Linked DNA regions of Homo sapiens: region 1 is linked to region 2. The links are contacts of gene promoters, found by promoter capture Hi-C in human tissues and cell types (Jung and others, 2019). All regions are on one chromosome and are shown on one strand. Each heading gives the region's core, a stretch centred on a gene start or on the middle of the fragment in contact. The rest is flanking DNA. Distances are from core to core; before and after follow the strand shown.

What was found. The method cuts DNA at HindIII sites, captures the fragments that hold promoters and counts their contacts. A contact is called where the count stands out against the background at its distance.
Region 1: a fragment that was not itself captured here is called in contact with the fragment with the promoter of TAX1BP1 in region 2 in 1 of the 25 tissues and cell types used here (H1 embryonic stem cells).

The regions. Positions count from the first base shown.
Region 1 is chr7:27,219,870-27,223,816 of GRCh38, reverse strand. No RefSeq gene overlaps it. Among named protein-coding and RNA genes, the nearest start is that of EVX1, 21 kb to the left of the region's middle. RefSeq lists an enhancer at 3,146-3,707. The HindIII fragment of the contact is 3,563 bases long and covers 501-3,947 here.
Region 2 is chr7:27,738,740-27,742,667 of GRCh38, reverse strand. TAX1BP1 (Tax1 binding protein 1) reads right to left here and starts at 2,506. Exons shown (of 17, transcript NM_006024.7): 1 at 2,399-2,506. It overlaps TAX1BP1-AS1 (TAX1BP1 antisense RNA 1), which reads left to right and starts at 1,993. Exons shown (of 2, transcript NR_187572.1): 1 at 1,993-2,652. RefSeq lists enhancers at 845-1,708, 2,223-2,492, 1,709-2,571 and a silencer at 1,823-2,055. The HindIII fragment of the contact is 10,372 bases long and covers 847-3,928 here.

The sequences.
Region 1 (3,947 bases), core at 1,033-3,532, 520 kb after region 2:
AGCATAGCCACACTTCAAACACAGAAGTGAAGGGATTGTCTGGCATTTTAAGATATTCATATACAAAAATGATATCCATGCTGCATATTATCCATGCAATAGATGGTGGAGCAAATCCACCCCCCCAGCAAGATATCTGGTGTGGTTCATATTTATATATAAAACAACATCACATTTTTAAAGCAAAGTCTCAGAATGTTCCAGGCTCACGCATCCACACAATGTAACTCCAGATTTTTGCCCAGAAACCTGACATTTCTCTCCTTCTTTTTATATGTATTAATAGCATCAGGGTAAAATGCAGGTGCTTTGGAACAAGCTACTTGGGTTCAAATCCTGACCCTGCCATATATTAGCTTATGACTGTGGTCAAGGTATTTACATTCTCTATGCTTCAAGTTCATCATCTCAAAAATGAAGATAATGACACTACTCATTTTATATTTTATGCAGAAAGCTTTTAGAACAGTGCCTGGGCACACACTGAGAGTTTAACAAAAGTTAGCCACAATTATTATTCACTCTTTTACACTCCCCCAAAAGCTTATTTCTCTCCATTCTTCCCTCTTTAAGAAACTACCACCTCCACATTCTCAGAATTGTCTTAGTTCCATTCTCTTATTTAACGGAGATTCTAACCATAGCTCCTCCCCTGCTGTTTGCCTTCTCTCTCCTACCCAATGGGAGGTAGCAGAGTCTAAAGAACACCTAATAGGAAACCTAGATTCTATTCCCCCTCTTCTCCTGTGATATTTTGGGTTTTTAAAACAACTTTATTGATGTATATGTTATGCATCATAACATTTACCCACTTCAGGTGTACAAAACAATGATTTTTAGTAGTAGCTTTACCAAGTGGTACAACCATCACGATAAATCCATTTCAGAACATTTTCATCTTCTCAACCCATGAGATCCCTCGTTTTTTTTTTAAGTTAATTCCCCTTTCCACGTCCAGCTTGAGGCAACCGCTAATGTTCTATCTTAATAAGTTTACCTTTTCTGGGCATTTTAGACAGACATAATCACACAACAGGTAGTCTGTTGGGTCTGGCTTCTTTCACTTAGCACAATTTTTGAGGTTCATCCATGCTATAGTAAATATCAGTAGTTCCATACGGTTTTATCACCTATAAAATCAGAATGAATTTTTTCTGCCATGTCTAAGAGAATCATATAAGAATATTGATAATATATATTGAAAGCTAACTAGTATTGCATCTACATTACTTTAGGCACTGAGCTAAGTGCTTTATTTGCATCATAGAAATTAAACTGCACAACAGCCTTATGGGCTAACTAGGTGATATTGTTACATCCATTTTCGAGTTGAGGAAGCTAAAGTTAAGAAAAATATAAACAGACTTGCCGAAGGTCACAAAGCAAATAGATGGCAGAGTGGTGGCTCAAATCTAGGTGTCTGTAACTCCAGAGCCAAAGACAGAGTCACCTTGCATTCAAAACACCAAAGGCTCTTTGCACTCAGTACCCTTCCATCATCACGAAAACAAACACACAAAACCCAGGGAAGTCTTCCTATCAACCCCACTAAACATGGAGAAATGGCCAGTGCTTTGTCAACTGTAAATCTCCACTCATATGGAAGGAATTCTTACTCCATCATTTTCTCCATACCTGACACTGCCCTTGTTAGAGAACTTTTAACCCCCTTGGGAAGGCACTGGTGGCCTGAAGGACTTAGGTCTGCTGATGAGGATTCTGATTTCTGATGAGGTTGCCTTAGGGAGTGCCCTGGTGCCTCTCCAGGCCAGGGAGCCCAGGAAGGGAGGTTGGACCTTTACCCAATCATCCTGTATTCACAAGGGATGAATGTGTAGGGAGAAAACTACTTAGGGATCTATGCCTCCTACTGTTAATTTTTAGGTTGGGATTCATGGCAGCACCTTATAACAATTAGGCTAGACCTTCCAACCTACTACCTCCTTTCTTAAAGAGGGAAGAATGGAGACAAATAAGCTTTTGGGGGAGTGTCAAAGAGTGAATAATAATTGTGGCTAACTTTTATTAAACTCTCAGTGTGTGCCCAGGCACTGTTCTAAAAGCTTTCTGCATAAAATATAAAATGAGTAGTGTTATTATCTTCATTTTTGAGATGACTGCTTTAGAAGACTGCTCAGTAGAAGGATTCTATTTGCACAAGAAGAAACGCTCTTCTCTAAAGCCACCTATGAGAACTTCTCAGTTGGTAAAGTAGTGAAACCTTCTTGGGATTTCATGATGAGTCACAGGCCTCACATTTCTTCCAGCAGCTCTGCCAAAGACATTCACCTGCAAATGTGTATTATCATGAATGTGTGGATAACATTTGTGTTAGTAATCATAAATACAAGAAGCCACACTCAAATTGTGTCCTATTATTTCTGAAATACACCCAAGCCACCCTCATCAGTCACAGGAAGTAGGGTCCTTAGTGTGAAGGCCAGCCGCCTCATTCCACTGAGGAGTTCCAGAGAGATCACAGGAGGTAGCCAGGGTGTTTAGTGACAGAATGGAGCCGAAAACCCATCTCCAGTCCCAGAAGAAGCAAGTACTCAGGTAAATTCATCCCAGATCAACAGCAGGTAATGTAGAGAAGAGGCCTCTTACTGACAACACTTTATTGCAGTGTGCAATACTCTCACACATTGCCAATAAGTTTTACAGAATCATTTATTTGTTGAATGAAAATAAATATTTGTTGGTGTTAGATGATCTTATGACTTTTGCACTTTTTGTACATAGTATTTCAATAAAGTATACCAAAAGGACACGATGCAAAATTAATATTTTAGAATGAATACAGAAGTGCCTAGCACAGCACCTGTCATATAGTAGGTGGGCATTAAAAGCGTGTTCATGGAATACATGATCTCGTTTGTTCCTGTCCCCTATGGGCAGGCAAGCACGTATGCTCCTGTCAGGGGTGTCATTCTTAAGCTTTCTTCACAGATGAGAAGTTCCCTGACTGCGAGGGTCACGCTGCTGGTTAGGGGCGCAAAGCCCCGGGTTCCTCCCACCGAGCGGAAGAGGGTGGATCACGGTTTGCACTGGGCCGCGGCCGCGCGGGGCGGGTCCACCCACATCCCCGGGCAAGCCGGGCAGGCGGGAGGCTGCTCTGCAAACACGAAGCCCCGAGCGAACTCTGAGGACGCGGCCAGGTCGGGAGGAGGCCTCACCGCACCTCGGCCCGGCCTGCAGGGTCCCCGCCAGCCCCGCGGCCCGGCCTCCTCCGTGGGGCTGTGGTTTCTCGCGGTCGCGGCCTGGCCCGGCCCCGCCCGACCGCCACACCAGGTCAGTCTGGCGGCGGTGTGTCCCTCGGTTCGTGCATCCTGCGCCTGGGGGCCCTTGCCCCAGGGATGGTGCCCTCTCACTCACCCCGGGGAGGAGGGGGGACTTCTCATCACTCGCGGATAACTTATAAGATGGGGCTGGCAGTGGCACGGGGGAAATACAGAAATGTAAGACGCATGCAGCTTTTCCTTATGAGAACCTTCTTAAAGCAAGCAAGGCCTCAATTCAAAATCAAAGCCTCCCAACTAAGTTTCCCCTTTACCAGGGCTTCACTGCAGGTGCTGGGCTTCCTCCTATGGACCGGTTCAGAGCAACTCACAGAGGCTCTCTGCCACCCAGCCACGGGACCTTGCCCAAGTCACTGACCCTCTCTGCCTGTTTCCTCATCTGTAGAATTTGGGTAACACAAGTACCTACCACATGGGGATATTGTGAGGGTTCGATGAGATCATCCCTGCAAAGCACAGCACCTGGTAGGTGCCAGACAATGCCTCCTTTACCCTCCCTTCCCCTCTAGCCCAAGAGCCAGAGTTTGTTCCCAGCATCCTCCTTGCATCTCCACCTGGGACGGCCCCTCTCCACCTGTCCAGGTCATTATCTCAGCCTCCTTGCTGCCCACCCTCAGCCAGACCCTGACACCCCACACCACTTGGCAC
Region 2 (3,928 bases), core at 1,257-3,756:
GGAGAAACCTCGTCTCTACTAAAAATACAAAAATTTGCCGGGTATGTGTGGGGAAAAGCAAGAGAGATCAGACTGTTACTGTGTCTGTGTAGAAAGAAGTAGACATAGGAGACTCCATTTTGTTCTGTACTAAGAAAAATTATTCTGCCTTGAGATTCTGTTAATCTATGACCTTACCACCAACCCCGTGCTCTCTGAAACATGTGCTGTGTCAAACTCACGGTTAAACGGATTAAGGGTTGTGCAAGATGTGCTCTGTTAAACAGATGCTTGAAGGCAGCATGCTCCTTAAGAGTCATCACCACTCCCTAATCTCAAGTACCCAGGGACACAAAAACTGTGGAAGCCTGCAGGGACCTCTGCCTAGGAAAGCCAGGTATTGTCCAAGGTTTCTCCCCATGTGATAGTCTGAAATATGGCCTCGTGGGAAGGGAAAGACCTGACCATCCCCCAGCCCGACATCCGTAAAGGGTCTGTGCTGAGGAGGATTAGTATAAGAGGAAGGCATGCCTCTTGCAGTTGAGACAAGAGGAAGGCATCTGTCTCCTGCCCGTCCCTGGGCATGGAATGTCTCAGTATAAAACCCGATTGTACGTTCCATCTACTGAGATAGGGAAAAACCGCCTTAGGGCTGGAGGTGGGACATGTGGGCAGCAATACTGCTTTGTAAAGCATTGAGATGTTTATGTGTATGCATATCTAAAAGCACAGCACTTGATTCTTTACCTTGTCTATGATGCAAAGACCTTTGTTCACGTGTTTGTCTGCTGACCCTCTCCCCACTATTGTCTTGTGACCCTGACATAGCCCCCTCTCGGAGAAACACCCACAAATGATCAATAAATACTAAGGGAACTCAGAGGCTGGCGGGATCCTCCATATGCTGAACGCTGGTTCCCCGGATCCCCTTATTTCTTTCTCTGTACTTTGTGTCTTTTTCTTTTCCAAGTCTCTCATTCCACCTAACGAGAAACACCCACAGGTGTGGAGGGGCAACCCACCCCTTCAGTGTGGTGGTGCGCGCCTGTAATCCCAGGTACTCAGGAGGCTGAGGCAGGAGAATCGCTTGAACCTGGGAGGCGGAGGTTGCAATGAGCCGCGATCGCGCCACTGCACTCCAGCCTGGGAGACAGAGCAAGACTCCATCTCAAGGAAAAAAAAAAAAAAAGAACGTGATGACTAGAAAACAAAAACTACAATGTTCTTTGAAGTTGAACAATCAGTTTGAAAAATAAATAAAACCTTATTAGAAGTCGGCATCATCAAACAATCCTTCAAGTTTACCCTTGAAAGGAACAGAACGAAAGAGAAAGGCTGTCCTAAGCTCCTTCCCTAAACCCGAAAAGCACTTTGAGGACGATCGACCCACTTTTAGTTTCTATTCAAATGATCTCTTTAAATCCTTTAGGAATTGAGCACCAAACTTGTAACTATTAATTGTTCGTGCACAGCTCGTAGAAATTTTAACATTAGCAGAATGCAGACAGCTGAAAAATCAAGATTTATTTTCCCATCTAAAGCCTAACATAATAGCAATTCATAACCACTGTGTGAAACCGGAAATCTAACACTGTGTATGTCTAAAGTCAAATGCCAGTGTTTTCTAACAAAACTTTTACCAATAAGGTGTGTACACACACCCACACAGACGCACGCTAAGCTCAATTTTTTACTAATAAGGTGTACGCGCGCGCGCGCACGCTAAACTCTAGCCACAGATTCCCTAAGCCAGGAGTGCAAGTCGGTCGGGACTAGTCCACACCTTGCGAACGGGGCGGGGTGGGGAATGGATTCCAGGTGAAGCAGGCCATCAGCCAGAACCGCCAACTCCGCCCGCGGCCCTCAAAAGTAGGCGGCGCAGGGAGTCTCCGCCCCCTTCGCCACCGGCGACTCAAACCAAAACAGCTGGGTTTCTCTCCGCAAAGGCAAACCCCAGCGTCCTTCTCGGACGCGACCTACGTGTTTTCTCAGCTTACTGCGCCGGTAAAACCCACACTGCCCTCAAAACAGTCACCCCAGAGTTTAGCCTTGGACACCAGAAGCTTTTCCTTCGGGGGTCGCCAGCGTCACTCGTCCCCAGCCAAAGGGCCCCCGTCCCACACGCCTCCCCCAAATCGCGAAGGCCTGTCCCACGGGCCTCCCACCGCGTGGGGCGGCCACCCGTTGCCATTCCAAAACTCCACAGCTGATCCGAGTCGCCCACACCCCCGTCACAATCGCAGTCTGGAAAGGAAGGTTTGTCTTCGGGAAGGAAAGCCTCGTCACCACAGAGACCTCTCCCGAGACCGGCCAGGCCCCTACAGTACAGGGGCTGAAGGGTGTAGCACGAGCCCTAAAAGAGATGCAGCTGGAGGCCGCCCCGCACAAGGCGCTGGGGTGGACCGGGGAGGCGCCTTACCCAGTGGAAAGACTCCCGGATCAAGGGAGAAAGTTACGCAGGCTTCCGATCCTGATCCGCCATCAGCCGCCGAACCTCTTCCGCCACTACCGCCTACCCCCAAAGACCGGCTACACCTCCCCTCCCAGCCGACAGTAGGCCTTGCGTCACTTCCGCCCACGGGGCGGTCTCTTCCGCCTCCTGCCTGGTTCGCCGCTCCCCTCCGCGACGACACGCCCCCAGCCCACTCCGCCGCGGGACGCCTCATCCCGCGGGTAGGCTGGCTCTCTCCTTACTTCGTCCTTGCTATTTTCGTTCAACTTAATCGCAGCAAAACAATGCGTCTGGATTTACATTCTGATTTTATGTTATTATTTTGACATACGAAAGGGGGAAACACACAGGAGGTTTAAGTAACTCACCAGCGATGTGGAAAGGGCAGCTCAGAGGTCCATGGACAGTACCGTATCCCTGTCTGCGTCTCAGTCGGCCTAAACTAGCCCACTCATTTTATAGATAAGGAAATAGCCAGAGAAGCAAGGGAGTGACCACACGGCTAGGGCTGCAAACCCCTGAGCACCAAGACTGTCTCTGAACTCCTGGCCCAGTCGTGTGCTTTTTTGGCTATGAAGTTTTGTTCACTGAAAGCTCCTAGGAGCTTTTCAGTTCTAATGCCCTCTGATTCTATTTGCTCTCGCTCCAGCAGAGGCCTCTTTTCTAGCCGCATTTCTGTGAGTTACCTGCTTTTGTTATCCGTATCATTTTCCGTGTGTGAATTTTCTCCCGCGTTCTGTTATTTCTAAAATCACTTTTGCTTGTTGTATATGTTGCCTTCCTATATTGGACATTCAGTTTGAATCGTAACTCCACAGAAGCAAATGTGTCCCATTCGAATTCATCATAGTCTTCTGTTGCCGTAAAACCCTGACAAACCTTGCAATAGCACCAGAAAGGATATGTAAATTAGATCGCATTAAATGTTGAAGCACATTCTAAATACAGAACATTCAAAATTATCTTTCATATACTTTCATCTTTACTTCCAGTTATTTCAGAAGACATTAGCTTTGATAACATAGGTTCTCAATATTTACAGACTGATTTGTTTCCTGTGTATTGACATTTTTGAACTTGGTCTTGTGCTGGGTATTATACTTGATCATAGAATTTCAGAAGAACCTTAATAGGCCATTTAGTCCCAGTCTCCTTATTTTATGGATGAAGAAAACGGTGTGAATAATCAACATAAGTTATCACTTGCGTTACTGGTAGCAACCTTCTGGTAGTAGAAATAACTGTGTCCCTTAAGAAATGTAAACATAGCAGTGAATTTTATAAGCACAATTTGTCAGAGATGTCACTCTTTGTTTAAATCACATTCCTATTTATATGTAATACATTTTTAATTACCACTAATTTTCAGTTAATGAAATCAGAAAAACAGTATGCTTAATAAAAACCATAATTGAAAGACTTTTTTTTTTGCCCTGAGAGGGACGGAGTTTCGCTCTTGTTGCTCAGGCTGCAGTACAGTGGCGCGATCTCGGCTCA